Regions from separate parts of the Homo sapiens genome. Here region 1 is linked to region 2. Evidence: promoter capture Hi-C in 16 types of primary human blood cells and fetal thymus (Javierre and others, 2016). All regions are on one chromosome and are shown on one strand. Each heading gives the region's core, a stretch centred on a gene start or on the middle of the fragment in contact. The rest is flanking DNA. Distances are from core to core; before and after follow the strand shown.

Region 1 (3,759 bases), core at 849-3,348, 180 kb before region 2:
GGCCAAGAACCCTATATAGGGCATTTTGTAGGACTGGGGGTTGAGAGGCATCTTTAGGAGTGAAAGAAGAGTCAGGGACTTAGGGACTGTTGTTACACGGCAGTAGGAACTATATGAAAAAGGAAGTTTAGGATGACTGGGCAGAGCCCACTCTCAGTCTAGTCCACTGGAGGGAGTTCCTTCCCCTGGCCCTGTCCATGCCTCGCTCTCTCCATCTGGTTGCCATCAGGCTGTGTGGCTGCTGGCGGGCTCTTTATTTATTTATCCCAGTGTAATGGGGTGAGGAGGGAGCTGGCCTAAGGCTGGCATTCCAAGGCCATGCCACTGAGCCACAGGCAGTTTGCATGGGTGTGTGAGTCACTGGGGCTGCATGCTGCTCAAACCAGACGCGGCCAGGCTCAGGGACAGCAGGCAGCCCAAAATAGAGCCCCGCCCTCTACAGCTGGCAACCCCTGGCTAGGAATCAGCCCTTGACACCAAAACCTGGGCAGTTGCTTGAAGTTGGCTTCCTTTGGTAGGGGTCCCTTAGCAGAGATGGAGATTTTGCAATTCTCTACTCTTCTCTCCTCTTCTCTTCTCTTCTCTTCCCTGCAGTCGTTCTTACTGCTGCATTCTGAATGCCTTATAAGTCTTAATCTGTTCAGTATAATACCTTAGCTAAGAAATTAGGGGGCTATAGTTAACATTGATTTGACTTAGCATCCTAAGTGCAGCCATGGTTGTTATATTCTGCCTAGTTTTAGTTACTGTCTTCAGCTCCTGTCTGGTTGCAGCCTGATTCTAGAGCAGATACTTTAAACTATGAAGAGAGTCACTGCTGCTCTTACGAAGCTAGAGCTTATATCGCCTGGGGAAGATGGGCAATGCTTTAACTTGAAAATTGCCATCTTGTTAAGCTTGTTCACACTTCTAATTGGTTTCTTTGGCTGGCTCTCCGTCTTCTGCCTGCCTCTTAAAGGTTAGTGTTTCCCAGGATCAGGTCCCTGATCCTCTGAGACTTCACTTTCCTTCCTCTGGGTCATCTCATCTAGACCCCAGTGTCAACTATTGTTGGTACATCGCTGAATACCAATTTTATATCTCCACTGTGTTTTAGGCCCATATTTCTTTCTGCATGTTTGGCATTTCCACCTGGATGTCCCACATAAAGCACATCCTAAACATGTCCAAAATGAATTATCTACTCCCCCAGACTATTTCTCTTATATTCCTTATCTTGGGGAATTATACCATCATCCATTCAGTTTTCTAAGCTAGAAATTTGGGAGTCACTCACTTTCCTCTTTGTCCTTACTTTCAAAGCCTAATTTATTGACCGTCTTTTGAATCTGCCTATCTTCTCTATTCTACCTCCCGTTGTCTGAAATTAGCCATTTTTCTCTCCCTTTTCCCCCACTCCCCCCCTGCTTTTTTTTTTTGAGACCAAGTCTCACTCTGTTGCCCAGGCTAGAGTGCAGTGGCACAATCTCGGCTCACTGTAACCTCTGCCTCCTGGGTTCAAGAGATTCTCATGCCCCAGCCTCCTGAGTAGCTGGGACTACAGGCTTGAGCCACCACGCCCAGCTAATTTTTGTATTTTTTGTAGAGATGGAGTTTCACCATGTTGGCCAGGCTGGTCTTGAACTCCTGACCTCAGGTGATCCACCTGCCTTGGCCTCCCAAAGTTTTGGGATTACAGGTGTGAGCCACTGTTCCTGGCCTTTCTGTCCCTTTTTTGGCTTGACCATGCAACAGCCTCCTAACTTGTCTCCTGGTCAGTTCTTATTCCCCTGCAGTTGAATTTGTAGTTTTGTCAGAGTGATGTCTTTGAAACTGAAACTTGATTATGACACTTTTTGCTCAGAGTCCTTTAGTGGCTCCCGGTTTCCTACAGGATAAAGTTCAAACTCCTTGCACGCCACACGTGATCATTTATGATTTGATCCTTTTGACATCTTCAGCCTGCTCCTCTGGCATTCCACTATAACATCTTTAAATACCACCTTGTGGATGAATCTCACATTTATTCTTCACTGTAGGTCTTACCCTGAAACTCCAGACTGCTTGTTTAACATTTTCATGAAGAAGTTTAAAAAATATCTTAAATTCAACACGTCCAAAATTGAACTTCCAGTCGTATGCCCAGATTTACTTTTCCAACAACCCCCTCCCATCTAAGTTGATGGAAGGTTCATTCTTTCACTTTTAGTTGGGTGAAAAAACCTTGGAGTCATCCTGACTGCTGTCCTCTCACTTCCTACAGCCAAAGTCCATCAGGAAATCCTGTTGGCTTTACCTTAAAACTATGCCCGTAATCTCACCTCTGCTGCTACCATACTGGAGCCACCATCATCTCCTACCTGCATTATGGCAAAAGCCTCCTTATTTGTATCCTGCAGCTACTCCTACCCCCTCCTGGCCTATTATCAACAAAGCTATCTTATTAAGTTGCAAGGCACATCGTGATATTCTTCTGCTCAAAGCCCTTCACTGGCTTAACACTTCATTTATAGAGTAAAATCCAAAGACTTTACCATGGCCTATAAAACCCTATATGATCTTATAGAACTCTCTTACCTTTCTGACCTCATCTCCTACAACTTCCTCCCTCATTCACTCCACTGCAGCCACACTGGCCTCTTGCTGTTTTTCTAACACTCTTAAGTGTTTTTCTAACACTCTAACACTGCCTTTAGGCCTTTACATTGGCTGTTCCCTCTGCCTGGAATGTTCTTTCTTCAGATATTTGTGTGGCCAACTTCCTCACTTCCTTAAAGTCTGTATTAGTTATCCATTGCTGTGTAACAAATTGTCCCAAAATTTAATGGCTTAAAATAACAGGCTGGGTGCGGTGGCTTACGCCTGTAATCGCAGCACTTTGGGAGGCCAAGGCAGATGGATCATGAGGTCAGGAAATCAAGACCATCCTGGCTAACACGGTGAAACCCTGTCTCTAATAAAAATACAAAAAATTAGCCGGGTGTGGTGGCAGGCGCCTGTAGTCCTAGCTACTTGGGAGGCTGAGGCGGGAGAATGGCGTGAACCTGGGAGGTCTCAGAGCTTGCAGTGAGCCGAGATCGTGCCACTGCACTCCAGTCTGGGCGAAAGAGCGAGACTCTGTCTCAGAAAACAAAAACAAAAACAAAAAACCCCAAAAAACCAAAAACACATTTATTATCTTGCATGGTTTCTGAGGGTCAGGAATCTGGGAGCAGCTTAGTGGGTGTGATTCTGGCTCAGTGTCTCTCATGATGTTGCAGTCAATATGTCAGCTGGTAACGCAGTCATTGTAACATCCGGATAATTCATATCCAAGCTTTCTCATGTGGCTGTTGGCAGGAGGTGCCATTTCTTGCTATGTGGCCTGTCCATAGGGCTACTCACAGGACCTGGTTTCCTCCAGAGCCAGTGATCCAAGAGACAAAGACCAAGGCCAGGTGGGGTGGCTCATGCCTGTAATCCCAGCACTTTTGGAGGCTGAGGCGGGCAGATCACCTGAGGTTAAGAGTTCAAGACCAGCCTGGCCAACATGGTGAAACTTCGTCTCTACTAAAAATACAAAAATTAGCTGGACATGGTGGCATGCACCTGTAATCCCAGCTACTCAGGAGGCTGAGGTGGGAGAATTGCTTGAACCCGGGAGGCAGAGGTTGCAGTGAGCTGAGATCACACCACTGCACTCCAGCCTGGGCAACAGAATGAGACTCTGTCTCAAAAAAAAAAGAAAAAGAAAAGAAAATGAGAAACGAAACCAAGACCAAATGGACCTGCAGTCCTTTT
Region 2 (3,599 bases), core at 456-2,955:
AACGGAAAATGGAAAGGCAGGGAGAGGGAGGAAGAAAGAGAGGAACAGGAGAGAGAGGGAGAGAGAGAGAGAGGAATGCAGACAGGAGGAAAAATGAAGACACAAAAAGGAGGCAAGGAAATGGATAAAACCGAGGGGGAATGGGCTGAAGGGAAGGGGGAGACCCCGGCAGAAATGGAGAAATGGGGGCGCAGACAGACGGGAAGAGTGAGGTTGGAGTGCCTTTCCCGCGCTCATCTTCCGTCCCCACTCCACGCCCAGCAAATCCAAACACCGCGGCCTCTGGTGTCCCGGTCTCCACTTTCCCCTGAGGGGCATGGGCGTCTCCTCCTCCGCCCAGCCGGGGCGCTGAGCGGCGGTAACAGCGGCGGTGGCTTTGTGGTCCCGGGGGGTCCGAGTGTGTGTCAGGGGCTGGGGCGGGGGATGGGCGCGGCCCCTGGGTATCCCTAGCGGTCCAGGTTCATAGTCCAGTGCTTGGTTCCGGCCGCGCAGCTGTCCCTGGCGGCCGAGGAGGCGGCGGGCGCGCCCCCGCTCGGTGGGCCCCCGCCGCTGGCGGCGGCCTCGCCCTCGTTCTTGAGGTCTTGAAAGACCTGCGTGAAGAAGTGGGGGTCGGCGTTGAGCCGCAGCATCTGCGGGCTGAGCCGCTGGATGAGGCGCAGGCAGCGCTGCCAGAAGCGCTCCTTGTCGGGCTCCACGAGGAAGGGCTTGAGTGGGTAGGAGATCTCGTTGCCCATGTAGGAGTAGGCGAGGTAGAGGCAGGTGAGGAAGGCGGCCTGCAGCTCGGCGGCCGACGCCAGCTCGTCCCCACGCAGCGACTCGCGGCACAGCAGGTACACGAACACCAGGTTTGCAGGCGTAATGAAGGCCTGGTCTTGCCAGCCCTGCAGCAGCAGCGAGCGGTCCACACCGCGGAACCAGCCCACCAGCTCGCCCGGGCTCAGCTCCTTGAGGCGATAGCAGCGTCGGCACACGAAGTCGCCCAGACAGCGCAGCAGCTCGCCGGTGGACGCCTGCACGATGACCCGCCGCGGCGAGCCGCCAGGCACCGGCGGCGCCACCTGCGGGGCTGGGGGAGGCGGCGGCGGAGGCTTTCCCCCGCCCGAGCCCGGCGGCTGAGCGGCCGCGCTGCCCCCCGACGGTGGCTCGCAGGTGGCGGCAGCCGCGGGCACGGTGGGCACTGGCACCGCCAGGGGCTTGGCGGTGCCGCCGCCGTCGGGGGGATCCCGGCCCTTGCGGAGAAGGTTCTCGCGGTTGCGTTGCTGGACCAGGGGGTCGGGGCCCGTGGATGCCGGCTTGGGTGTCACCTTCTTGCTGCCTTTCTTCTTCTTGGCGGACGCGGCCACCAGGCGCTTCCAGGTGAGCGCCGAGATGAGCACGGACGGCCGCTTGAGTCGGCTCTCGCCTTTGCCGCCCTTGCCCACTGGCGGCGCCCCGTAGCCCCCCAGCGCCTCGTCCCCCGCGGGCGGCGCCTTCTTCTTCTCCTCGGGCAGCCCGCCGGGCCTCCGGCCCTTGGCCGAGGAGGCAGGCGAAAGAGACAGCACTGTGCCCATCCTGCAGAGCGGGGCCGGCGCCCAGGCCCCAGCGGGAGCCGCGGGCGGCGCCGCTGCTACTGCAGCCCCGGGGGACCCGGCGGTGGGGGGCCTAGCCCCGGCCCGGGCGCGCGGACTGGCGGGGGAAGGTGGCTGCTAGGCGGCTCCGCTGCTCTAATCCTGAGCTGCGCCAGCTGCAGCGTCAGCCCCACCCCTTGGGCCCCTTTTTTCGTCGCGCCGTGCCCCGCCTCACGCGGCCAATCCGCTCCCGAGTTGCACTCCTGATGGGCAGCTCCAATGACCAATAGACTCTCGCACTTCAATTTCAAGTCCCGCCCCAATCCCCACCCTCCGCCCTGAGTCTTTTCCCTTCCCCCGAGCGGAGGAAGGGGAAGGCGGTGGTCGTCGTTCGAGTGGCCTCCTCAGGGTCAGAGTTGAGAAGGGGTGGTGGCTGCTCCTGCCTCCTCCGGATCCTAGGGCCTGGACCAGCTTGTTCTGATGCACTGGGTCGCGGTAGCAGATAAACCATGGGAACAGCTCTCCTTCCCTCTGCCTTTGAATTTGTGTGGGGGGCCAGTGTGAGCAGTGAGTGCCCTCACCGGATGCCCAGGTCCCAGATGGGTCGCGTTGCACTGGCTCCTCCAATGTGACTGTCAGGTCTGTTTCCTCTTCGCGACCCCACCTCGCCCCCCACCCCCCAGGTCGCTAGGGGGGCTGCAGCAGGCACATTTCTGCCCTGCCTGTTTGGGAGTCCTGGCAGAGCCTTCTTGCAGGTCACAACCCGCCTTCTTGGGGGTTCCAGCTTGAGGGGGAGAGGGGGAGCAGCAAGGTCTCAAATATGCCCCTGAGGCTTCTGCTTGCCGTCCTGATTCTCTGCAACTGAGCCTGTGGGGCAGACCCTTGGCTCTGGTCCCTGGGCAGCTCCTCTCGGTTGGTTGTCCCCACTAACACACACAGATCTCATACTTGGGTGGATGATGGATAAGGTTGGTCCCTGGGGAAACGCTAGAAATTGGATCACTTGGTCTACCCAGTCTTGGATAGTGAACGGAGCCTCCTGTGTGGACGGAAGCCCAAGAGGGTTGGACCAACCTCCAGCCCAGCCCTGGGTCCAGGTTGAGGTGGGTTTCATCATTAAATGCTTCCTGCAGGTAAGGTTCCAGCTGTCCCCACTCCCAGGAGCAAGCTGTTAGGCTGGGTCCTGTCCACTTCTCTCTGGGTCTGTCTGTTACCTCCTGAGTACCCATCAGCCCTTTGCCCTGGATTTTGGACTCCCCAGGCCTTACCTGCAGGTCTTGAGCACAGCTAGTTCTGGACCTATTCTATCTGCCTTGTTAGATCATGTCCACCCTTCTTGGAGCCTGCTCTCTGTGGCTCCCCCAGCACAAGAGCCTTCAGGCTTCTTAAGTAAGTGGACCTTGTAGGTGCATATGGGTTCCATGTGGAGCCAAACCCCTGCCTATGTATTTCAGTAAATTCTAAGGATTGCCCTTGGAGTCACCTCCATGCTCCTCACAGACCGCAAACATAGCTCCAAGGATCCACTGCTGTCAGGGTTGGTTTGTGCATATATGTGTGTGTGTGTGTCACTGCAGATAGGCTGTTCTAGAATCCACTTGGGCTGCAGTTCCAGCTACCAGAGGTACAGAATTTCCCAGCCATTCCACAGCCCCTGGTCACTCACACCCTCCTGGAGGCCTGTGGTCTGCCTGTCTCCATTCCCCTCCTCTTTACCACTGTGCACATGCAGCCTTGTACCTTCTCCCTAACTCAGCACCCAATATGCACTTTTTCAACAGGGTATCTCTGCTCCCTAGGATCTGATCTTTATTTTCTTGCAGCCCAAGCTGACCTTCCCAAACTCATTCTCCTCATAGTTCTTGAAAGTGTTCCCTCTTTTCAGCTCCTGTAATTGGCCCCACTTCCTCCTACAAGGTGTTCTGAGTCACTCTTTATCTGCCAACCAAGGAATAGTCAGTTCACCGGTAGTTAAGGACAAGCCCTGTAGAGACTGAGTTGCACTGGCGGAAACACTGGGCATGTGGATCTAAATGGCACATGAGTCCTTCC

Evidence for each region. The method cuts DNA at HindIII sites, captures the fragments that hold promoters and counts their contacts. A CHiCAGO score of 5 or more calls a contact.
Region 1: a fragment that was not itself captured here is called in contact with the fragment with the promoter of CDK5R2 in region 2 in 2 of 17 cell types (M1 macrophages and M0 macrophages); the score reaches 5.2 in M1 macrophages.

What each region holds. Positions count from the first base shown.
Region 1 is chr2:219,139,039-219,142,797 of GRCh38, reverse strand. The region is part of intron 5 of NHEJ1 (non-homologous end joining factor 1); the gene reads left to right. Among named protein-coding and RNA genes, the nearest start is that of NHEJ1, 20 kb to the left of the region's middle. The HindIII fragment of the contact is 2,399 bases long and covers 899-3,297 here.
Region 2 is chr2:218,957,772-218,961,370 of GRCh38, reverse strand. CDK5R2 (cyclin dependent kinase 5 regulatory subunit 2) reads right to left here and starts at 1,705. Exons shown (of 1, transcript NM_003936.5): 1 at 1-1,705. The coding sequence starts at 1,550. The coding sequence ends at 447. RefSeq lists a silencer at 1,453-1,722. The HindIII fragment of the contact is 8,518 bases long and covers 1-3,599 here.